7 separate regions of the Homo sapiens genome follow, and all the other regions are linked to region 6. The links are contacts of gene promoters, found by promoter capture Hi-C in blood cells and fetal thymus (Javierre and others, 2016). All regions are on one chromosome and are shown on one strand. Each heading gives the region's core, a stretch centred on a gene start or on the middle of the fragment in contact. The rest is flanking DNA. Distances are from core to core; before and after follow the strand shown. Region 1 overlaps HADH (hydroxyacyl-CoA dehydrogenase). Region 2 overlaps HADH (hydroxyacyl-CoA dehydrogenase). Region 3 has its middle 12 kb from the start of RPL34. Region 4 has its middle 1.8 kb from the start of OSTC. Region 5 holds the start of CYP2U1 (cytochrome P450 family 2 subfamily U member 1). Region 6 holds the start of GAR1 (GAR1 ribonucleoprotein). Region 7 overlaps RPL34-DT (RPL34 divergent transcript).

Evidence for each region. The method cuts DNA at HindIII sites, captures the fragments that hold promoters and counts their contacts. A CHiCAGO score of 5 or more calls a contact.
Region 1: a contact is called between a fragment that was not itself captured here and the fragment with the promoter of GAR1 in region 6, in 1 of 17 cell types (total CD8 T cells). The highest score is 5.8, in total CD8 T cells.
Region 2: a contact is called between a fragment that was not itself captured here and the fragment with the promoter of GAR1 in region 6, in 5 of 17 cell types (fetal thymus, total B cells, total CD8 T cells and 2 more). The highest score is 7.7, in fetal thymus.
Region 3: a contact is called between a fragment that was not itself captured here and the fragment with the promoter of GAR1 in region 6, in 7 of 17 cell types (total B cells, monocytes, naive CD8 T cells and 4 more). The highest score is 11.7, in total B cells.
Region 4: a fragment that was not itself captured here is called in contact with the fragment with the promoter of GAR1 in region 6 in 10 of 17 cell types (total B cells, total CD8 T cells, naive CD4 T cells and 7 more); the score reaches 12.0 in total B cells.
Region 5: the fragment with the promoter of CYP2U1 here is called in contact with the fragment with the promoter of GAR1 in region 6 in 9 of 17 cell types (total B cells, non-activated CD4 T cells, naive CD8 T cells and 6 more); the score reaches 11.0 in total B cells.
Region 7: a fragment that was not itself captured here is called in contact with the fragment with the promoter of GAR1 in region 6 in 5 of 17 cell types (total CD8 T cells, naive B cells, naive CD4 T cells and 2 more); the score reaches 7.1 in total CD8 T cells.

Annotation. Positions count from the first base shown.
Region 1 is chr4:107,991,950-107,995,416 of GRCh38, reverse strand. The region is part of intron 1 of HADH (hydroxyacyl-CoA dehydrogenase); the gene reads right to left. Among named protein-coding and RNA genes, the nearest start is that of HADH, 3.8 kb to the right of the region's middle. The HindIII fragment of the contact is 362 bases long and covers 1,190-1,551 here.
Region 2 is chr4:108,016,904-108,020,241 of GRCh38, reverse strand. HADH (hydroxyacyl-CoA dehydrogenase) reads right to left here. Exons shown (of 8, transcript NM_005327.7): 4 at 576-702. Among named protein-coding and RNA genes, the nearest start is that of HADH, 29 kb to the right of the region's middle. The HindIII fragment of the contact is 222 bases long and covers 1,209-1,430 here.
Region 3 is chr4:108,630,743-108,633,934 of GRCh38, reverse strand. No RefSeq gene overlaps it. Among named protein-coding and RNA genes, the nearest start is that of RPL34, 12 kb to the right of the region's middle. The HindIII fragment of the contact is 238 bases long and covers 1,733-1,970 here.
Region 4 is chr4:108,647,076-108,650,552 of GRCh38, reverse strand. No RefSeq gene overlaps it. Among named protein-coding and RNA genes, the nearest start is that of OSTC, 1.8 kb to the left of the region's middle. RefSeq lists an enhancer at 1-14. The HindIII fragment of the contact is 413 bases long and covers 1,999-2,411 here.
Region 5 is chr4:107,929,694-107,933,006 of GRCh38, reverse strand. It overlaps CYP2U1 (cytochrome P450 family 2 subfamily U member 1), which reads right to left and starts at 1,458. Exons shown (of 5, transcript NM_183075.3): 1 at 874-1,458. The coding sequence starts at 1,363. It overlaps CYP2U1-AS1 (CYP2U1 and SGMS2 antisense RNA 1), which reads left to right and starts at 888. Exons shown (of 7, transcript NR_125929.1): 1 at 888-1,036. The region is part of intron 1 of LOC107986298 (a long non-coding RNA gene); the gene reads left to right. LOC124900751 (a long non-coding RNA gene) reads left to right here and starts at 1,422. Exons shown (of 2, transcript XR_007058221.1): 1 at 1,422-2,034; 2 at 3,104-3,313. RefSeq lists enhancers at 721-790, 851-920, 1,581-2,088 and a silencer at 1,131-1,720. The HindIII fragment of the contact is 6,450 bases long and covers 1-2,737 here.
Region 6 is chr4:109,814,208-109,817,326 of GRCh38, reverse strand. GAR1 (GAR1 ribonucleoprotein) reads right to left here and starts at 1,565. Exons shown (of 7, transcript NM_018983.4): 1 at 1,523-1,565; 2 at 949-1,174. The coding sequence starts at 1,162. It overlaps GAR1-DT (GAR1 divergent transcript), which reads left to right and starts at 1,945. Exons shown (of 2, transcript NR_186620.1): 1 at 1,945-2,496. RefSeq lists enhancers at 820-889, 1,060-1,109, 1,460-1,509, 1,520-1,919, 2,090-2,189. The HindIII fragment of the contact is 3,017 bases long and covers 1-2,480 here.
Region 7 is chr4:108,611,018-108,614,434 of GRCh38, reverse strand. The region is part of intron 1 of RPL34-DT (RPL34 divergent transcript); the gene reads left to right. Among named protein-coding and RNA genes, the nearest start is that of RPL34-DT, 7.7 kb to the left of the region's middle. RefSeq lists an enhancer at 2,126-3,417. The HindIII fragment of the contact is 918 bases long and covers 1,456-2,373 here.

The sequences.
Region 1 (3,467 bases), core at 121-2,620, 1.8 Mb after region 6:
GAAAGCAGCTAATATTTATCAGACAGTTACTATCAAACACACTAATGCTATTCTAGGAGCTTGTATATTAGTTCATTTAACTTTCACAGCTGTCAGGTGAGTCTCATTATTCCCAGGTAAGTAAAGAGGCAGAGAGGAGTTAAGTGATTTGCCCAAGGTTCCTAAAGGCAGGATAGGAAGGCTAGCATCTAAACCCTGGCAGGGACCTCATAGCCTGTACTTTTGAGATTAGAATACCACTACCAGAAATAATAACATCATGAATATAACAGGGGGAGCCACAGAGAACATCCACATTATCTTCCTGTGGTCCCAGGAGAACTAGAGAGTGAGGTGTGTGTGCCTACCACAGATAAGAGAGAAGGGAGAGGGGAAGAAAGAAGAAACTCAAGCAAGGGGCAAGTGATTAAAGCTGGAGGCAGAACATGGCAGGAAAATGCCAAAACCTGACTGACTGAAGTGCCATTTCTGCTCTAAAAAATGTCCAAACATATCCCATAGCATTATTTTCTGTTGCCTGTGAGCCCTACCTCTTCTACCCTCTAGGAATGACAGTATCTCCAACCTCACCCAGAGTCCAATAACTAATATGCTAATAGAGGGTGGTTCTACATCCCAGTACCTCAACCAAGAGCAGAGAACAGCCCAACAAAGATAAGCAACAACTCGGGAAGTAGGGGGAAAACTTCATAACAAACAGACACATCTCATGTCCTTCAGCAGGAAGGTAACAACTGGGAGTACAAATATTCCCTCCATAAGGAACAGTCAAAAGGAGAGCTTACAGCCAGGTAACTGCTGGTCTCCTGTGATCCTGAAACTTCTCCTAGGCATCTGTACTGCTTTGCAAGCAAAGCAGTACTGTACTGTACAGCTCAACAGAGCTGTACTCACAGTAGAAGAGAATAAAGCTAAAAAAATATGAAACAACTCTGATCATTCTCTTTTTCAGCATCAGAAAATGCAGATTTGGGGGCAAGAAGAAGAGATGAGAGAACAAATCCAGTGGCTGGGGAGAAGCTTTCAGGTCTACCTGAATCCTTATCAAGCATGGTAGAGTCACACAAAATCCCTGCAACGTAGCAGGCTCTCCCTGCCCTTACTTTGTTTTTAATAGCCAAAGAAGCTCTCTCTAGAAAAAATATGCACTTTCTGCTTTTTAAAAAGGAGGAAAAAAAAAAAGCAAGCTTTGGGAGAGAAGAACCTATCCCCAACCCCCTTTAAGATGCAAACTTTCTCACTTCCTCAAAGAAGAGTAGTGCACTAAAAAGAAGGTTGCACCCGGAGAGCATGTAAAGTGTCTCAAGGGGGACATCTGAAGTGCCCCGTTCCCAGGGAGCCCACTGGCTCCTCACAAGTAATCTAATGAAAGCTATGCATTCTCTCTGGGCTCCTCATATGAAAAAACCCAATGTATGAAGCAAAGCCTAGAAAGGATTCAATACTGGAGAAATGCACACAGCTACCAGCTTTCTTCCTTTCTTGTTTTCCTCTTTATAAAGCAAAAAAACAACCTGTCCCCCACTCAAGGCTCATTTAATCCTATAAGCTTCTTTATTGGCCTAAGTATCCAGTGAAGATAAATTAGCAATCAAAACCAAGTCAGAAGTGTGTAATAAGCAAACACATGAAACAAGTTAACTTCAAATATTAACCTGCAGTCTAAGGGATTTTTTGTTTTTTTAATTTAAAACAAACAAAAGAAATGACAGGCAAAGTAGATACTCTCGGAAAATACACATGTACAAATGGCCTGTGCTCTGATCAAATGTAATTAAGCACTGAACTTGTCTTAAATTGCTTAATTGCTTGAGAAATGCATCAGGCTCCCACAAAATCTATTTAAATATTTTTTCATCCTTCTGAGCACAAACTGACGTGTTTAAAATGACAAAACTATTAAAATTATAAGCAGAACTGCACCTTGACTAACATTAAAACCACGTCAGAAAGTTCAAGAAAATTAAGCTAATGAAAATCAGTAACATAACCTCAATACTAGTTTGTGATTGTACTTTTATGGCTTTACTAAAGTTTAACAATAAAATGGGGGGTAACTAAAAAGTGTTCTCCCTCCTTTCAGAGGTCCCTGAAAAAACATACCCGCTGCAGCATCAGCGGGTATATGCATTCAAGATTAAGCAAGATGAAACAGGGAATCATGACCAATATTCTCCATCTAAACCTTACAGGCCTACCTCAGCAGCTGTGATCAGGATGGGAGTGGATATGAGGGGAAAAGGGCAAAAGGACAGGACAACTGCAATGAAGATGATGATTATTCTTTTTATTTATCTTTTTGAGACGGAGTCTCGCTCTGTTGCCCAGGCTACAGTGCAGTGGTGCGATCTCGGCTCACTGCAACCTCCACCTCTCAGGTTCAAGAGACTATTCTGCCACAGCCTTCCAAGTAGGTGGGACCACAGGCACATGCCACCATGCTGGCTAATTTTTTTGTATTTTTAGTAGAGACAGGGTTTCACCATATTGGCCAGGCTGGTCTTGAACTCCTGACCTCAGATGATCTGCCCCCCTCAGCCTCCCAAAGTGCTGGGATTACAGGCTTGAGCCACCATGCCGGGCCGAAGATAATTATTATAAAGGCAGCTAACTTTCTGTGAACTCTTATTACATGCCAGACACTGTGTAAGTGCTTGACATATGCTTGATATATGTAACTGCTTGACATATGCATGAATTCATTGAATTTATTCAATTCTCTCCCTACGAGGCCAGTACTAGCATTAGTCTACTTTAGAGATGAGAAAACCGAGACACAGAGGTAAAGTCCCATGTTAATACTGCATGAGGCAGAGCTAGCATGCAGACCATCCAACTTCTTATATTGAACTGTAGCCCATCTGTACTCAAAACACATCAACTAATTCGTCTCTGGCACTCAATAAGCAAAACAGATTTACCCTATGCCAAAAGCTGTTGGTCAAGGAGCATAAAGAATGAAGCAATACTGCCTAGAACTGCATGCTACAGGGTAGGGTGCAAAAGCAGATAAGCTAAACCACTGCAAAGCATTGCTCACAAATGTTTTAGAGGATTGGAGCTGTCAACTAAAGTAACTGAGGTTTTTCCAAACTGTGTTACATAAGGATGGAACTGTTTCTTATGGTCGTCCACTTTATAGATTTCTGGTCTTTATAACCTTTCAGAATGACAGTTCCATTATGTGTCCAGCCTATGGCATAAATAGCTTTTTTTTCCCTTAAGTTTCAAAAGGCACTCCCTGGTCCACCTATTTAAGAGTTTGATTGACAAGCACAAGCCTGTGTTCTCCATTAATGTCAATCATTTCTCCTTACTCCTTTGTCAGGTGAAAGCTCCAACACCATACCTGTAATTTTAGGTATTGCCCCTCTGCCTTTTAATGCAACACAACATCCATTTTTGGCCAATGATGGATGCAGCATTCAAAGAACTAAGCACTCTGATTTTCTACAAAAGTTGAAGTG
Region 2 (3,338 bases), core at 70-2,569, 1.8 Mb after region 6:
AACTTCCACCTCCAAAAGTTCTAGGATTACAGGCATGAGCCGCCGCACCCAATGGGAGCTGGTTTTAATAGCTCTGATCACAATGCACAGGAGATGTACCTCATCTGGGGACAACGCTAAGGCACCATTACATGGGGTCAGAATTAACCCCAGGAACTGTGGACAAGCTAGTATAGTGTATCTAATGAGAACTGCATTTACAGCATGGGCAAGCTGACCTCGACGAGATAATATGAACACATGTAGCTGCCCTCTGTGTGGTCCCATCCAGCCCACGGTTTCTAGTGCTGCCTTCCCATTCTGATGCCTCTCAGCACTGCCCATCAGCTCTGGCACAAATAAGTAAATGACATTCCACAAAGTTAACAGCCTTTCTGGATATCACTAAGCAAGACACAGGGCTGTGAAGAAACAAAGCATAGAAGCCCTCCTAGATATGAGGCTCAGGGACAACCTTCTACCCTCAGGTTAAAACCCATCCTAGGCAACTGGTGGCAGGGCTGGTGTAACACAGAAAAGCAGGACTGAGAGAGCTGGCAGAGCGGGCAGACACACACAAGCTGACACCCACTGACCTCCACAAGTTTCATGACAGGCACTGGGTTGAAGAAATGGAGGCCAGCGAATCGGTCTTGTCTGGTGGTGGCATTAGCTATGCTTGTAATCTGCAAGGAGGAAGTGTTGCTGGCAAAGATTGTATGTCTGTGAAGAGAAAATATAGTGGGAGTATCAGAGTGAATCTCTTCTTTCAAAACAGCATGACTCTTGGATGCAATGCACAAGGTGACTGCTTACTGCCACATCTGTTGTCCTGACCCATTGGGGGAATGAGGGAGAAGACACATCTTCATATAAGAGGCTGAAATCAAGTGACTTCAGCTTTTTAAAAATTTTTAAATTTGAAATAAAATTGGAATTTCCTGTTCCGAAGAGGTATTTAACCTTCACCAATCCTTCCTTGATTTTCCAGAACAAAATTTCCCCTACCTACTTGTATTAGTTAACTTCCAAGGTATGTGAGATAACAAGAGGTGGCTAATTGATCAAGCTACTTAACCAACCCCAGTCACAAACGAAACTCAGTGATCAAAAAATAATGAAAGAAAGACACCTAAAAGCAACAAAATTCTAAATGAACACATAAATCCTCAATCAGAAACATATGATAATAAACGTGAATTAAGATATTTTCCCTGAAGTGAAAAGCTTTATTTTTCAATTGAATGGGAATTAAAATGAAAACAAGAACACCAACATGGTTCAAAAAAATTTTAAGGTTACATGGGTAGATATGGGGAAAAGAGGATATAGGCATATGCATATATAAGACATTAACTTATTCATTAAAAAAAATCCATACTGACTTAAACCAAATTTAGTTCTTTAAGGCCACAGTAAAGTGGCGTGCCAAAAGCATGAGAGGAAAAGCTTTAAACAGGTTGACTTCCAGGCTTTCCTGCAGCGCCACCTTGCGGATAAAAACATACAAACAGGCCTGGTGCTGATTCCAACCAAGATGGACTGTAACAGGGCAGGAAAGGAAAGGATCCCTTACTGACCAGGCTTGGGGGTTTCTGCTTACCTAACAGGCAATACTATAATCTGCTCAAATCAGGGGCGGGTGGGAGGAGAGGAGGAAGAGAAGGGAGAAGAAACCAGTTATTTGGAAAGGAGGGAAAAGAGGTAAAAGGCGAGACCAGTGTGGGTAGGCAGCGGAGAGCCTTCTCTTTCCAGGTATGAGCACATCCACCTTCTCCAACAGCTTCCAAGGTAGGCCATTTAAATGCCAGGGTTTCCTTTTTAAAAAAAAAATGACATTGTTTTAAGGTCTTAAAATTTCAGTTTTCAAAGTTTCTTGCTTTTGGTCATTGGGGAAAATAATATAAACTATTCCCCATTACAGAAGGTAATGAAAAAAAGATCCTCTTCCAATAACAATGTGTGTGGCCAACACAAGCACTGTTCAACCACACAACCTGCACCACAAGCACCTGGAACCACAAAAACAGAGCAGGGACAGCCTGGGCCCAAGGCTGTGCCAGCTGTGGCTCCACACTCCCGTTAAGAAAAGAAAGTGTTATTTTAAAGATTAGTATTACAATCGTAATACCCCTTTTTGTAGAATGTTTGAAGGGCCATTCACCTGCAAAAAGGGGAAACTTGGGCACATTTGGTAAAATAAAGTGACATCAGAGCCCAGTTCCAGGTATCACCAGTCCAGGGCACTCTGGCACATTTTATCAGAAGGAGGAAATGATCTCTCCCCAGCAGACCTCTGCTTCTGCCTCTCCCAACAGGGTCAGGCTGACTTTGTTCCTAAAAGTCTCACACTGTCTTCAGAGAATACTAAACACATAGGACAGTCTTTTCATCCACAAACAAAATGTACTCTGGGCTGGGCACGGTGGCTCACACTTGTAATACCAGCACTTTAGGAGGCCGAGGCAGGTGGATCACTTGAAGTCAGGAGTTCGAGACGAGCCTGGCCAACATGCCCCGTCTCTACTAAAAATACAAAAATTAGCTGGGCATGGTAGCGCATGCCTGTAATCCCAGCCACTAGGGAGGCTGAGGCAGGAGAATTGCTTGAACCTGGGGGGCAGAGGTTTCAGTGAGCTTAAGATCATGCCACTGCACTCCAGCCTGGGCGACAGAGCGAGACTCCGTCTCAAAAAAAAAAAAAAAGTACTCTTACATGTTCCTGGAAACACTTGTCTTGAACCATCTTTTGTTTTTTTCATTCGGACACTCAGGTACCAAAAAAACTACTTTTCTCTTAAATGTTCTAAAAGAAAATCGACAACACAAGCACAGTGATTATTAGCAATGGCCCCAGACCCTAGTATAAAGAAGACAAGAGGGTTGGTGGGGATGGCAAAGGATTCAAGAGTCTGTACTTTGTCTAAAGGGGAAAGTCAGGACTTCGATCTGGCTGCCTGTGCGTCTGGTCATACTTTTCATTTGTGTGTCTTAGGCTGCTGCTAGAGAAGTCATGTTCTCTCCAGGATGCAACTGTTTCATCAGGGCTTCCAACCCGAAATGTATCACTTGACTATATTTTCTTCTCCCATTATAGGATCGAACTGTAAAATTTGTCAGTAAAGTACCTCTCAATACGGCTGCTTAAAAATTGTAGCAAGCATTCAATAATGGTGGTGATCTAAAACAAAAACAAACAGTGCCAAGAAAGGTGGAGAAGGTCAGCAGCAAAGTCACATCTTTGGTATGACTATGGGTCATGCCTTCTTTTCACACCTCATATCTGTTTTGCATCAATTCAGGTTAAAGAGCCTAGTGTAGTGCCTGATACACAGCAGGCACTCAGGAAATGTGAGCTA
Region 3 (3,192 bases), core at 602-3,101, 1.2 Mb after region 6:
CGTGGTGGTGGGTGCCTGTAATCCCAACTACTTGGGAGGGTGAGGCAGGAGAATCACTTGAACCCAGGAGGTGGAGGTTGCAGTGAGCTGAGATTGTGATTGCGCCATTGCATTCCAGCCTGGGCAACAGAGTGAGACTCTTGTCTCAAAAAAAGAAAAAAAAGAAAAAAAAGAGAGAGAATTGTGGGAATTACCAATCAGGAAAATATTTCAACATAAAAATATATTAGCTTAAAATTCTATGGAGGAAATGGAATGGTAATATATGTCAAAAAGAAAAAGGGGTGACACAGTGGCTCACATCTATAATTCCATTGCTTTGGGAGGCCGAGGCAGGAGAATCGCTTTGAGGCCAGGAGTTTGAGACCAGCCTAAGCAACGTAGCAAGACTCCATCTTTTTTTTCTTTTTTAAAACAAAAACCATTTTACAAATTAGCCACGTGTGGTGGTACATGCCTGTAGTCCCAGCTGCTTGGAAGGCTGAGGCAGAGGATTGCTTGACCCCAAAAGTTTGATGTTGCAGTGAGCCAGGATGGTACCATTAAACTCCAGCCCAGTCAATAGAGCAAGACCCTGTCTCTAAAAAAACAAAACAAAATGGAAGAAAAAAGAACGAATATAAAACTTCCAAATGTTAGAAAAGCTTGTTCCTGTCTTTTTGAAAATGGCTACTATACCATAAAAAAGAACAATATCATGTCCTTTGCAGGAACATGGATGGAGCTGGAGGCCATTATCCTTAGCAAACTAATGCAGGAACGGAAAACCAAATTCTGCATGTTCTCACTTATAAAGTGGGAGCTAAATGATGAGGACACATGGACACATAGAGGGAAACACACACTGGGGCCTATTGCAGGGTAGAGGGTGGGAGGAGGGAGAGGACCAGGAAAAATAACTAATGGGTACTAGGCTTAATACCTGCGTGATAAAATAATCTATACAACAAACTCCCATGACATAAGTTTACCTATATAACAAATCTGCACATATACCACTGAACTTAAAAGTTAAAAATAAATAAATAAATACATATACAAAAACTCAAAAAAATGGCTATGGAGATTTTGATATGCTTAAAAATTGATAAAACAGTTCTCTTTAAAATTATTAAAATGTTCACTCTGTTGGAAATGATATCCTTTGCAAGGATTTACATTTTGAATGAAAAGTTTTAGATGACAATCTGAAAATGTGCCAGAGTCTACATAACTTTCCAAAATGTTAAGGGGTACTCAAGTAAAAAGAAATATTTAAAGATCATTGCACTGTACCATTGTCTTAGTGGTATATTGCTATGTAACAAATCACCTCAAAATTGAATGGAATTTAAAAAGCAGCCATTTTATTTTTTCCCACCATCCATTGGGCTGATTAGACTTAACAAGGCAGTTTTCTACTGGTCTTGCTTAAGGTCTCTCATGCAATTGCAATCAGATGGCAGCTTTGGCTAGAAGCAGAGTTGTCTAGAGCAGGGTCCCAAACTATGAGCTAAGAGACCAAATCTGACCTGACATCAGTTTTTGTAAATAAAATTTTATTGGAACATAGCCATGACCATTTGTTTATGTATCGTCTATGGCTACTGACACTCTACAATGGCAGAATTGAGTAGTTGTGAAAGAGAGACCCTATGGCCTGTGACATCTTTTATGACTTACACTAAGATGCAATAAACACGTGAATTTTCTTCAAGACCATTTGTTCTTTAGGCAAGTCAAGCTGTAAGCTTATTTTCAACCCTAGAATGAGAGAGAGTTGAGAGAGTAAAGTCTTCAGGCTATTTGCACAGGCCAAGGAATATAGAAGCTGAATGAATATCAAGGGAATTTGGTCAGTAAATTTGATCCTTTTCCTCCTTAATGGTAGGTGGTTGGTGCCTAAATTATCTAGGGGATTGCATAATTTAAATATCCCCTAATGTAGAGGAGGATTTATTTGCTCCTAACTAAAACAGTTTAGGAAAGCTTTTCTTTTGCTGGTGTCCCTTAGGATGAAAAGTAGCCCTGGGGCCACACAGGTATAGTAAATCTATGTGCTGACAGGGATGTTCCTTCTTAGTGATTAACAATTAGTTCACACTTTTCAGGTTTATTGGCCTTTAAATATTGAGAGTGAATTGGATTGCCTGAATTGATTTTGTTTTTCATAAAAACGATTTCTTGACTTACGGCATTTGCACATGTTGGTTTCTATGTCCAGAGTATTCTCCCTTTTTGTCACCCAGACAACACCTACTTATCTTTGTTGTGGGCTTAAACATCACTTTCTCAGAAAAAGCCTCCCTTAACTCCCCCATGAGGTTCCCTTTCCACATCGTTTCACAGCACTGTGGACTTTCTTTTTGTGAGTCTAATCCCAGTGTGTACAACAACAAATGTATTTATATGTTCCCCATTTAACATTGTCTCTCCTGTGTGCCATGAGGCCAAGGGAAGAGTCTCATCTGCTTTGTTGACTACTGTATTAACAATTATCCAGCATCATAGTTTCTGGTACATGGTAGTTTCTAATAAATATTTATCGAGTAAATGAATGAAAGCTAAAGCAATTATAAAAGAATGTAAATGTTTGGCAAAAATACTTACATAATCCTTCAGGTTAACCAGAAACATTTAAGATTTATTAAAAATTATTGAATAGCTAATATTTTGGAAACCCAAAAGCATCTTTTCATCCAGAATTATTGCGGATCTTATCCTTTAATTTAGAAAATGTTAGGGACTGAATGTTTGCATCCCCCTCAAAATTTATATGTTGGAGTACTAACTTCCAATGGGATGGTGAGGCTTTGGGGAGGTATATATTATTAGATTTTGAGGATGGAGCCCTGATGACGAGATAAGTGCCCTTCTAAGAAAAGACATGAGACAGGTGATCTCTCCACCACATGTGGATACAGCAAGGAGATGGCCATCTGCAAACAGGAAGAGACATGGAATCTGCCAGTGCCTTGATCTTGGACTTAGCTTCCAGAACAGTGAGAAATAAATGTTGTTCAAGCCACTCAGTCCGTGGTAGTTACAGTAGCATGAACTAGCTGAGATAGAAATGAGATTCATAAAGACAATGTTAACTTCTTTTCTTTTTTTTTTTTGAGACGGAGTCTCGCTCTGTAGCCCAGGCTGGAGTGCAGTGGCGCAATCTCGGCTCACTGCAAGCTCCACCTCCCAGGTTCACGCCATTCTTCT
Region 4 (3,477 bases), core at 956-3,455, 1.2 Mb after region 6:
GATCCGTAAAGCTCGGAGGTGGTTACTATACTCATAGAAGAAAATAAGAAACTAAATAAAACAAATAAATGATATGAATAAAGTGTTGTAAATTATTTAATCTAATTAAACTTACATTGTGATAATGTACTCTACATTTTTCTAATGGATATATAGGTGATTTGTGTACCTTCAAGGACCTGCGGGACTTCTAACGTGGCCAAGCCGGAGAAGCGGAGGCCAAGGAATCTAGGTGAGCCCCGCCCACTCGCTGACGCAGGGGATTTGAAAGCTGATTGGACAGGGGGCGCTCCCGGTTCCCAGAGCGGGAGATGAATGGGAACTTTTGGATATAAATGCCTTTTATATTAGAGGTTTTTTCAAGGGTTAGGAAAAGCCGGAGGCTGCTGAGCTTTTACTTCCCGATGTAGTCGTGGTAATAATAAGAATTAATAATAGTTGCTAAAGTAATATGTTACCAATTTTTTTTAAACATCCAGCCTGGATCACAAATGTCAACAGGACATCTCTACAGGGATGCCTTAATGCTGATAGCTTGGCGTGACCATAATACTATTTTGAATAACTCATCCTCTCAACTTTGCTCTTCCCTTGGTCATCTGTATGTCGCTAAAAGGTAAAATCCCTCTGGCCAAAAATCTTAAAGTCGTCTGGATTTCTCTCCTTACTAACCTTCTGCATCCAAAATATTAGTAGGTCTCTTTGGCTGTACTACCAAAATATCTCCAATTCATCTGCCCCTCACCATTCCACCACTGACACCCTAGTGTGAACCACCGCCATCTCTGGTCTGGGCAACATTTACAATCCAAATAGATGAAAATATATGATGGAGAATTAGTCATTAGGGATGGACTAGAAGGTCTAAAAGATTTTTTGTTTTCTGTTTTGCTTTTCTTTTTTATATAATCTTTTAAGACTCTACAAATGTTAACTTCCTTTTGGAGCAAGAGTTAAGAGTCACTGATTACATAAGTCCAGAGCATATTGACACATTATAGAGCCAATGTTTTTATATTTTTTTATTTGCTTGTTACTAAGCCCGTGGTTATTTTTACAGGATGCCATGTATTGGTTCTGCACTTCTAATTAGCTAACAACTCAATTGTTAAGAAATTGCTTGAAGACGGTAATGAAAATACTATCAAAACATTGTAGTATCCAATTCTAAGTACAGTTGAGGCTTGCTGCCCTTACTGTTCATTAGTGAGAGTCTCTCCCAGAGTCATATTGCCTATGTCTTAACGGAGCCACACGAATCTTAGGTTATGTAAAGGCCAATGATAACACCAATAATGAATGCATTTACACCAAAACCAGCGTTTATATGTAGGAAGTTTCTCTGGGCACTGTAAAGCAGAATGTTTCTGAAATTCCCACAGTTTTATAAGTAAGGAACACTTTGGAACAATTAAAATATTTTGCTTTGGTATGAAGAAAAAAATAAAAATAAAACATTTTGCTTTGGAAAAACATAGGGATTAAAGGTTTTTAAATTTCCTTTATAGCTTAAAAAGGAATCTAACATTAATTAACCACTGCTTGGCAGGTACTATGTTAAGTGATTTACATTTGTGCTTATATACTCTTCATGACAATTCTGTTAGGTAAATACTAGTATAACTGCTTTACATATGACAAAAGTGGCTCCTGGGAAGGGAAATAAACTCAAAAAGTGTAGTATAGTCTGTGACTGGATGAGACCTAAAAGGCAATTGCTGTAGAAGTAAATAGATTTAAGACGTTTAAAATGGTATACGTTTATATACTTATCCTTCTTCCTGTGTATACTAGGGACACATAATTTCTACCTACATTGTGGAAAACATATAAATTATTAATATATAATTTTTAAATGAAAAATTAATTTCATAAATAATAAAACTGCCAAGTCAGAACACACTGCATTCATCTATATGTTAAATTATTACTATCACTTTCCAAAAAGTAAGTTTGCTCCAGGAACCAATTCATTATTATTTTTTAACCTCTTAAGCTTTGAAATATTTTTCAACATGAGTTTGTAATATTCTATAAGCCACGTATAAAAGAGACCTTTCATGAGTAAGATATGCATATCTGTTATCATCCATGTCCTAACCCACAATTCCTACAGAAAAATGTTCTATTTAAACATAACATAAACTCTGTAACTGAAAACCAAAGAAATAATGAATATAGCAGTGGGCATTAGAGCATGCCCTTAAATAAACATATAATCAATCATTCAGTGGTTTTCTATTTATAGATGAAGAAGGAAAAATGTTGAGAGAAACACAGTTTACAATATAATATGCAGTAGAGCTGTCATCTTAAGCTACATATAAAAGCAAATGTTAATAATTCTTACTGTGCACAAGCAAATATATATTCAAAGAAGAAAAAAGTGTAAAGATGGTATCTACCAAGCTTTCTGTGTTCATTGTAGAATATTTTAATAAAAAGCCTTGAAGTCAGAAATGGTTCTGCCAGCCAAAAGAGAGGGAGAGCTCCACAAATAAGTTTTTAACTAAATTCTAAACAAACTAGAATTACAAAGGCTACAAATATTGTTGATTTCTGTTTATTTAAATATGTGTTGGAGAGGAAATTAGTAGCTTTGTTTTTTGTAGGATAATAATACTAATATTAACCTGGATTTTTATTTATGAAGACATTTTGCAGTTTGGTTGACAGTGTCTTGAATTATGTTCTTTCGCGCTAGGTTCTGTATAAGCATGAGTACGAAGCACTATTATGTCTCATGATCTAAATAAAAACTCTTTCTAATGCAATATTGTGGGGTTTGGTGTTATTGTTGTAGTTATTTTACATTTTGAAGGTTGTTTTTAAAATTATATGCAAGTAATGGCTGGGCACGGTGGCTCATGCCTGTAATCCCAGCACTTTGGGAGGCCTCCTCACCTGAGGTCAGCAGTTCGAACCCAGCCTGACTAACATGATGAAACCCCATCTTTACTAAAAAATACAAAATTAGCTGGGCATGGTGGTGTATGCCTCTAATCCCAGCTACTTGCAAGGCTGAGGCAGGAGAATGGCTTGAACCCGAGTGGCGGACGTTGCAGTGAGCCGAGATCGTGCCATTGCACTCCAGCCTGGGCAACAAGAGAGAAACTCCATCTCTAAAAATAAATGAATAAACAAATAAATAATGAAAATAAGAAATAAAATTATGCAAGTAAAACATAGGAACCTGCCCAATGTAAAATAATTAATTTATTCAAATATTAGAGACACATATGGAACGAGTTTCCCATTATCACTATTCTAATTTTAGTTCTCCTTCCAGAGGTAGTGAGATCACTGAGTTCTAGAATGTACAATTGGGATAAATGTACTCAGCAAATGGAAAAATCACCATATTGGTTTCCTGACCCATATTATGAGGGCTTTTATGGCAGGAAAGTCTAAGTGTAACCAGTAGAACTGCTTTTACCTACAGAAATAATAAATCTAAAGTGACTTCAGTGGCTGATG
Region 5 (3,313 bases), core at 209-2,708, 1.9 Mb after region 6:
ATGACTCTGTCCTCCTAGATGTCAGAACAGTGGTGAAGACTGACATCCAGGCCCAAGGTCATAAAGTTATGTAGCGTCAGTTTTGAAAAGTGTAGTGAAGGAAAAGTGCTTGGGCAAGGGACCTGGTTCTAACAAGGGAGGCTACCCTACTTGCAGAGGCTGTGAGAAAAGGCTTCCCCAAGGAAAAGGCATTTAACACCTGACTGATGCGTAGGAGTGACTCAGAAAAGAAGTCAGAGACCTAAGCCAGCCAGTAAGACAAAGGGGGACGGTAGAGACAGGTTAGATTGGACATTTTATTGCAGCAGATAACACGTTTTCCAACCCCCAAAAATGTCCAATTTAGACTCCCATACGCAGGAATCAGAGGCTATGAACCAAAGCCGGAGATTTGGTAATAGGCTTCTTCTGTGTTTTCTGGACTTTTTATCTTATTGGAAATTATCTTCTTAAATTCTTACATTCGAAACCCACAAGGTAAAAAGAATATCCTTCCCTCTTTCTAACATGGGGGCCAAAGTTTCTCTCCGAGGTCACAGCTGGTGGAAGGGAAGGCTACTTTTGGAAAGATGGAACCTGGCTTGCCACCTTGTCCTTCCGCCATCCCTATTACTCTCCCTCAATCTCCGGATGACTTTTCTACTTATGATCTTGGAGTATGAGCAAGTCACGCGTCCGTCACTACTTGATGGGATCTTAAAGGCATCAGAAAGGAGAAGCGCCGCCACCACCATCACCTGTTAGTTCAGGATGCAGGTGTGAGGCAGCCTGGGGGCGCGGGCGGCCGGAAGGGGCACAGGAACTGCAGCCCCCACGCACCTGGAGACTCATCCGCGGCATCCGCGTACCCACAGCCCACGACCTCCCGCTCACCCTTCTCCTTGGTCACGATGGAGATGAGCGGCACCCGCGGGCGGTCGCTGAAGACCTCGGCCTGCTGCACCAGCGCCTCGCGCACGCTGTGGAAGTCGCTGAGGACCACCACCAGGTAGTGGCCGATAAAGAAGCTGAAGATGCTGCCGTACACGCGGGCTAGGTGAGCCAGGAGCACCTGCGGGCCTATGACCGAGGGATCAATCCCTGCGGCCCTGGTCCTGCTGCTCAGCCAGCTCCGCCGCCGGAGGAAGGGAGGCAGCAGCACGTGACCGAAGTTGCCCACCAGAGGCCAGGGCGTGGGCCCGGGCGGGATGCCCCGCGCCCGGCGCCTCCGCAGCCAGCTCCAGCCCAGCAGCGCTACGAGGCCGCATAGCAGCAGCGCGCCCCCGCTGGGGTCCAGCCGCAGCAGCCCCAGAGGCGCACGCAGGAGGCGCGCGGGCCAGGGCGGGTCCTCGGCCGGCGGCTGCGACGGCCCCGGAGACGACATGGTCCGGGCGCCGGCGGCCTCGGGTTCCCCTTGCTGCCTGGAGGAGACGCGCACGCAGCTGCCTGACCCGCGGCGCCAGTGTCCTGCTCTGCTCTGGAAGGTCGGGGGCGGGCAGGGGGTGTAGGAACGCCCCCGGATTGGCTGCGCCGCGCGCATTCTCCCCGCCGCCGCCACTCAGCGACGCCTGGGCGGAACCTGGAGGCGCGCCGGCTGCCTGGCGGAGGGGGTTGGCGGGCTAGCAGGCGGGGGACCTGAAGTTTGCCCCGAAGTCCGGTTACGACCCTTTGCAGGGTCGGGCTTGGCGGTGACTGTCCCTGAAACTGGGATGCTGGCAACACAACCTTGCGCTCTGATTGGCTGTTGGTTTCCCTTGTGTCATTCGTTTGTCATTATCACTCGTTTGTCAGTTGACAAACACAAACGCATGGTTATGAAGTGCATAAACCGTGTTAGGATCTGTACTGAGTGTGGGAAACTGGTGAACAGGCCCGTGAGATGGGTCGGCCTTAGCACCTGTGCCCTGAGCTGGGAGAATGGGGTCAACGCCCTATTCCTGCATGCTTCGGTGTAGTAGTGAAAAGACGGGGTTCCTTATCTAAACTGGGATTCGCAGCACCCTTTCCTCCACGCAGAGACAGCAGGATGCTGGGAAGCCGTGGAATGCAGAATCTGTGGGTGTCGGCTTGGCAGCCAACTCTGCGGAAGGGATGATGGCGGGAGTGGGGGGAGCGAGGGGCGGGCAGCGAGGCACGAGGAGTCACGTTCTGAGAGCTTGCCCTGGGCTAGAAAACTTATGCGGAGAGCGAAAGCTGTGTCCATTCCTGCGTGTGGCCTGGGTGCATTAGAAAATGTACTTAAATCCAGAAATAGCGAAACCAGAATTTGCTTGGTGGATTTAAGTAGCTAGAAATATGAAAAGAAGATAACCGGTTGAGGGAGGGGTGGCAATATTATTATTGGTGTTAGACAACACTTGAAAGGCTGAGGTTGAAATATTAGATATGAATTGTATAATACTTTAAAAACAAAGTATTACTTTATTTTATCTTCTCAGATAATGGCTTTCCTGATAAGGGCTTCCCTTTCAGTCTTGTTTAGGCCAAATCCTGTAGTTTCTGTTCAAGTTGGATTGAGCATAGAATTGTCTGTACTGGGCCATTTTTCTAGCCGTTTCATTTTTCTCCATACATTAAAAGTTTGAACACCACGCTGTACCTATAAAAATGTGATCAAAGAAAGCATAGTGAGTCCTCAAATAAATACATGATCCATTTTATTTTTCTATAAACAAGTGATGCCAGTAGGATATGTTAAATTTCAAGTCCACTCTGTTCTCATATTCTTTTTGACATGCTTTTCATGTTATTTTAAGCTTATGCACCCCAAACAAAAAAAAAAAACCTCCACACCTCTCATCTTCTATAATTAACCACTACTTGTGAGATTACTTTTCTCATTTTTTTTGAATTTTTGAATTAAGAGAAGTTTTTAAAAATTTAAACTACTTGTTTGCAGATACGATCTTCAACATGACATTCTGGATGTCATCTGATTCTAGGGCTTTGCTCTCTGAAACAGTAGCCACTATATACATCATCCCATACAAGCAATTTAAATTCATAAATGATTTTAAAATAGTTGAAGCTGTGACTAATTTAACAACTCCAACAGCCACCCTTTTATATTGTACAGGATGTAACTGCACGTGTAGTGTTTTCCTAAATCTCTCATTTTCACTAGGTTAATAGCTGTGCGGGGCAGATAGGAAATCTGGGCTGAATTCAGCCTCTCCTCACCACTATATGTTGAAGTCCTAACCCCCAGTGCCTCAGAATAAGACTGTATTTGGAGAAAGGGCCTTTAAAGAGGTAATTAAGCTAAAATGGAGTCCTGTGGATGGGCTCTTACCAATATGACTGGTGTCTGAAGAGGAGATAAGGACACAGAGAG
Region 6 (3,119 bases), core at 316-2,815:
CCAAGTCTTCATTCCTATCACCCAAGCTCAAAACCTGGAACCCTTTATTATCAGCATTAGCTAAGTTCTACCGATTTTGTTTCCTTTGAAATCTCTCTCCTATCTAACCCTTCCTTTTTTTTCCTCACTGTCACCATCCTGATTCAGGCTCTCAAGGTCTCATGTATGGACTGGTACAACAGCTTGTGGGCTGGGACCTTTTATTCTAGAAACTGCTCCTTTCAAACCATCCTGCATACTCATCCAAGCCATTCTTAGTTAGACACTACTCACCCTCTCTCCTCTTTAATGTAGTAAGTTTCACTTTCTGTGACTTCCATTCCCATCTCATTGTTAATTACTCTAAAACTACCCTAAATAGGTGTTTTTCTAGATTTCCTCTCTGGCAGTTTCCCTCTCAAGCAAATTGTTTTCTCACTTATCTACTTTTGAGTAGTAACAGAAAGCATGGGCTTTGGAGTCAGAATACTTGGCTTTGTATTTCTTTCTTTTCTGTACAGACAGGGTCTCCTGCTTTATTATCCAGGCTGGTCTCTAACTCCCGGCTTCAAAAGATCCTCCCGTCTTAGCTTCCCAAAGTGTTGGGATTACAGGCGTGAGCCACCGCACCCAGCCTGTATTTCAGCTATATCACTAATTGATCACTTATCACTAACCTTATGACCCCAGCAAAAAAACTTAACTCTAAATCATAGTTTTCTCATCTGTAAAATCGGGGAATTAGGCATAAGTACTCACGATTACCTATTTAATATCTTCCTGTCAACCCTCAAGTTCCACCTCCAAGATGCATTCTAAGTATCCCTCAGCTTTCTTGATCTCCCCACTCCACCCTTACATGCTACATTCTCCACACAGGCTTGTGTATCCCAAACTTGCTGCCTAACAACACAAACCCCCAACCCACACCTACTCCTTCAAATAAGCTAAATACTGAAGACTGCATACAGACTACACGTTCTGGAGGTCCTTGGTCTTGGCCTTTGTTAAAGCCTCCGCGGCCACCCCCTCGTCCAAATCCTCCCCTGCCGCCGCCTCTGAAATTGCCGCCGCCTCCACCGCCGCCTCCACCTCGGAAGTGGTTGCTGCTGCCACCTCGGTTGAAGCCGCCACCTCCACCACCTCGATTAAAGCCTCCACGACCTCCGCCTCGAAAAGACATTCTCTCTCCTCCCTGATGAAAAAAAAACGACCTATGTCTTCTGATCACTGTAGCCTCTGAGTATACTCCAACCCCTCGGAGCTGCGGTGAGAACACCATAAAGGAGACAAAAGCAGCCCTGTCACCTCACCCACGGTCAGACAGCCAGTGACCACCAACCTGATGGGTGAAGAGTTTACTTCTCCATGGTCTCGTGAGCGCCGACCGACCACACACCACCCTTGCCGCCCCATGATTAGTATCTCCTCCCCCTACAGACAGCAAGGTCTTCGCACCGCATCCCCTTCCTTCCTCCCTCCCTCCGGCAGTTGGGTTCCACGTCCAGCATTTTCAAATCCTCCGGCTTCTACGGCCACTCACCGGCGCCACGTGCCCCTCTGGCCCTGGCCTTGCGCACACACCCACCCGCGGGGTACTTCCGCCGCGCTGGAACCTCCTCGGTTACCGTACCGCCACAGAGTTTTTTAAAGACCAGAAACTTGAATAACTGGTTTGCCAAAAAAAAAAGCCAATCACCCGCGGAACAAGCAACACTGGTTCCAAAACAGCCTTTAGCGCTGGAAAAGTGGCAATAATAGATAACCTTAACCACTAATTTACAACAGAGAGGCCAACTTGCCTGACGCTGAGCCGTGGAAGTGACGTATAACAGCGGCGTCCTTTGCAGCACGACGTCCCGGAAGTGCTGCGGCAATGTTGCTCTTGGAGATAGCTGGCGTTAGGGATCCGCCTTCTCTCCCAGAGGCGGGGCAGGTTTCTGTTTGGTTGCCGCCCTAACGGCCAGAACTAAAGCACCTTGCAAGGAATGAAGTTGGTTCTTGAAGTCCGTGCTGACTGGCTGGGCGCATTTGCGCATTTGCTTCTCTGGCTGCAAAATGGCCCGCAACAGCACTCACTAATTTGTTGCTAACTTCAGGAACTGTGCGGACAGGTCTCTGAGGCTTCTGAGCCGCGCTATGTCCAGTAGATCTGGGCGCCTCAGAACCTGTCACAGCCGACGGAAGCGTTTATCTGAGTTTCTTGTTTCTTCCCAACCTTTTGATTTTCGCACCATTACGCGCTCAACTATGCCTCTTCTTTTGTCCTATGGTCTCAACTAATTAAAGGAAGAAAAGCAATGCATGTGTGTGTGTAATTTTAAAGAAACTATGCTGTCTTATAGAAAACCAAACCATCATTTTTATCTTTTGTACCAGGTATTCAAGTATGTTTTGAGCACCGACGGGCTGTGAACTGGACTGTGCTGAAAGCTCCTCTCCCTCTTCTCTCTTTAAGCCCTTTATATTTGACATCAGCTTCCCCCACATTCTCCAAAGCTTCTCTCACAAATAAAGGTAATGACTTCCCATTTATTAAATTTGGTTGGAGTCTTTTACACCCAAACCCTCTGAGACCTTACCTTGATATTTGATCTCGTGTTTAGAAGAGGGTGGAACTTGGTACCTATCTAATTCAGAGGGTTATTGTAAATGGGATTTTAAAATACCTTTGTAGGCGGGGCGTGGTGGCTCACGCCTGTAATCCCAGCACTTTGGGAGGCCAAGGCAGATGGATCACTTGAGATCAGGAGTTCGAGACCAGCCTGGCCAATACGGTGAAACCCCTTCTCTACTAAAAATACAAAAATCAGCCGGGCATGGTGGCACACGCCTGTAATCGCAGCTACTCGGGAGGCTGAGGCAGGAGAATCGCTTGAACCCGGGAGGCGGAGGTTGCCGTGAGCCGAGATCACGCCACTGCACTCCAGCCTGGACGACAGAGCAAGGCTTGGTCTCAAAACAAACAAAAAACAAAATAAGTGAGAGAGGAAACTTTACTTGTTCTTTTTCTTTTAGTTTAGTAAATGCTGCAATTTGATTTTAACGAATGTTGGTCTTTTTATGGGCCTATATAAGTGTATTATTTTTGAAACAAAAAATGAAAATTACCTATTTAGTATGAAACCTTTGCTTATCTT
Region 7 (3,417 bases), core at 665-3,164, 1.2 Mb after region 6:
AATACCTAGAGCAGTGCTTGGCAAACAGTAAGCATTCAAAAATATTTTTTAAATGAATGAATAAGTAGAGATTAGCGCCTACCAAGGAATTATTCAAGAAGAATATCAAATAATAAAATTTAGTATTCTAGCGAAGGTTAGACTTAACAGCTATGGAGATAAAGTAAAGAGATTAAAAGCATTTTCATTGTAGAACTTTTACACGTTTTTCCATTATTGGGCCTCATAGCCTATATTGCACCATGAATCAATGCCTTTTATTAATCTCGTGATTATTTGTGAATGGCCCAATTATAGTCATATGTTGCTTAATGACAGATACATTCTGAGAAATATGTTAGGTGATTTCGTCTTTGTGTGAACATCATAGAGTGTACTTACACAAACCTAGATGGTAGAGTCTACTGCACACCTAGGCTTTATAGTATAGCCTTCTGCTTCTAGTCTACAAACCTGTACAGTATGTTACTGCAGTGAATAGTGTAGGCAATTGTAACACAATGGTAAGTATTTGTGTATCTAAACATATCTAAACATAGAAAAGGTAGAAGAAAAATATGATATAAAAGATAATGGTACACCTGTATAGGGCACTGACTATAAAGGGAGCTTGCAGGACTGGAAGTTGCTCTGGGTGAGTCAGTGAGTGAGTGGTGAGTGAATGGGAAGGCCTAGGACATTACTATACACTATGGTAGACTTTATAAACACTATACACTTTGTATACACTATATATATATTTATATATAAAAAGATAAATATATATACTCTATATACACACTATATATATGTTTTATATACACTAAATTTATAAAAAGTTTTTTCTTCAATAATAGACTAACCTTAATAAGCTTACTGTTACTTTTTTACTTTATAAAGTTTAAAAAAAATTTAACTTTTTGACTTTTTGGTAATAACACTTAGCTTAAAACACAAACACATTGTACAAGTTTTGCTACAAAGAGTTAAAATATCAGAGCCACTCTAAATAACCACTGTAAATTTTAGAAATAGGAGTTTGAAACAAATTAGATTTTTCTAATAGAAATGTTCTGAGCCTAAAGCCCTAAAGGGGAGTAAGGAAACCAATTAACTTTAATTTAAATAATCATGTCTTAAGTAGCAAATGAGCGAAGTTCTATTGTTAAAGAACAACTGTACTAAATCCCCGAAAGGTTAGATTCAAAATGGTATAAATACAGTGGTTTCACATCTTACTAATGAAATAAATTTCTATTGGTCATTGTAACCTCTGCTTCTTGTCTTACTGGACATTGTTACTGAGGGTGGAGGAAGGGAATGATTGAGATTAAGGGCAGAATAATTATGTGCAATTCCCATTGATGTTCCTATTGTTAGTAACTTTTTTAAAAGCAACCAATGAAACAGCTAATAATTTTATTCCTGGGAAAAAATAAGAAAATCTGAGCAAAGCTTATTTTCTTCTTTTAAGCTTGTATATATAGTATATGATTTTCTGTTTGTACTTGCTATTTAAAAACAATGTATTTATAATGATTGAGGTCACCATGGTGTTTTATATACAAACATGCCCCCTATTTACATCCACAATGACTGAATTTCTGCCAATGTCTATAAGCATTAAAGCAACCATCAAAAATGTATTAATAAGGCATATATTATTAATAAGGTATAATACAGTAGATACTAAACTCATGCCTGGAGTTTTATTCTGGATGAGTTAATGTAGTAAAGTAGGAAGAGAGTGAGTTTAGCAAGCAGTTTGAAGCCAGACGATGGAAAGTTTTAAATGCTATGCTTAAAGGCTTAAATTGTTTCTCTCGTGCCTTGTCTTTTGATTTCTTTCTCCTCACGTGCTACCTTTGTGAACTTCAGAAAGCAAGTTAACCTCACTGAGACTGTCTCTTTATCTGTAACATGGAAGTGGGAATCCCATATTGTGGGTGTGCTGCGGGAATTAACGGAGATAAAGCACGTAGCTGAGGCTGGCACACCATGGCTGCTCAATAGATAAATGGTCTTAGTATTGTTTTCTAGAAATGAAATGCTGCCTTCTGCTCTTCCTTATAACCAGTTTTGCACATCACTGTTACACCTTATACCTTACTAATGTTTGGTGTGTTCTTAGGAGAACATTTTTATTTCCTTGTGTTATTTTGGGGAACTCTAGAAAAACCACTATAGAATTTATCAAAATGGAAACATAGCATGGATTGACAGAAAAGGGCAAAAGAGTTAAAAGGGTTAGTGTGTCAACTCCTTGACTTTCTGGAGATCCTTTTTTTTTTTTTTTTCCCAAAACGTAGCCACTGCCTTTGTGTCTTGTTCCACGTCCTGTGTCTTGTTCCAATTATTTATGCAAATGAAGACAATTGTTTTCCTATGAAAGCTTGGTGAAAAGATGCTATAGAAAAATCCAGTGCATTTTCATTATTGCTTGCTCAACAGCAATACTCTTTTGTAGCAAGAAGAAAATAATTTTGCAAAATGCTCCCCCACCCCCACATGAAAAGTAAAAAGTACATAATATCATGTTTGTGTTGAAACTTTTTCTTCCAAAATGTCATAACCCCATACGAAAGAGAATTAAAATCCCATTATTTTAATTTACATCTAGCCACAAGATAAGTAAAGTTATCATTGAAATTCTAATTAAATGGGATGATTGACTAAGGTAGCACATCAAAGAAGAGAAGTGAATATGATAAGTCGAAGACTTATTAATTAGTCTGCGTGGTAGAAATTCCAGGGATGTCAAGCTGAGCCTGCTTCAAGGAGAAAAAAAGCAGACAAGAAAACGTTCGTTTCTTTGAAGTTAGGAACTGAGATAGTGATGGAGGTAATTGCGTCTGACTGGATCCAGTAATGAAGAGCTGTAAATCAGACTGCAGAATCGAAAGGAAGATTCAAGTAACGAATGTGGCTGCCTCCCCCTGCTGTGAAGAAACAGAATGCAGAGCGCACTAATTGACCCAGCCTATTTCCCAGTAGTTCTCTGTTATTATTTATTAATTTTTAATTTCTGAATTATTTACGTCCTGGGAAATTATTCTTGACAGGCTGTTAGGCGTGCCAAAGTTAATGGAGGAGGAAAGGACTGGTACCAGAATTAGCAGGGATGTAGTCACAGGCTACTGGATTTAATGATTTTGGAAAGAAAAATTGATTTCACACAGTGCGTCACTTTATACTACTTTAGGGATACACCAGCTATTTGATTAATTGAGGAATAACCAATTCAAAGTATATTTGAAGTGTAAATGAGTCACAGTGCTCAGCTGTTTACTTTTCTCTCTTTCTGAGAGATCTGAATTTTCTTCAAGCTGATGATTAAAAGCCAATGAAGACACACTTGCATGCTTTGAATGCACACCTGTTTGATTCATATTAAACTCAGAAGGGAGGAAAACCCTGAAGTACATGAGAAGGTAGTTT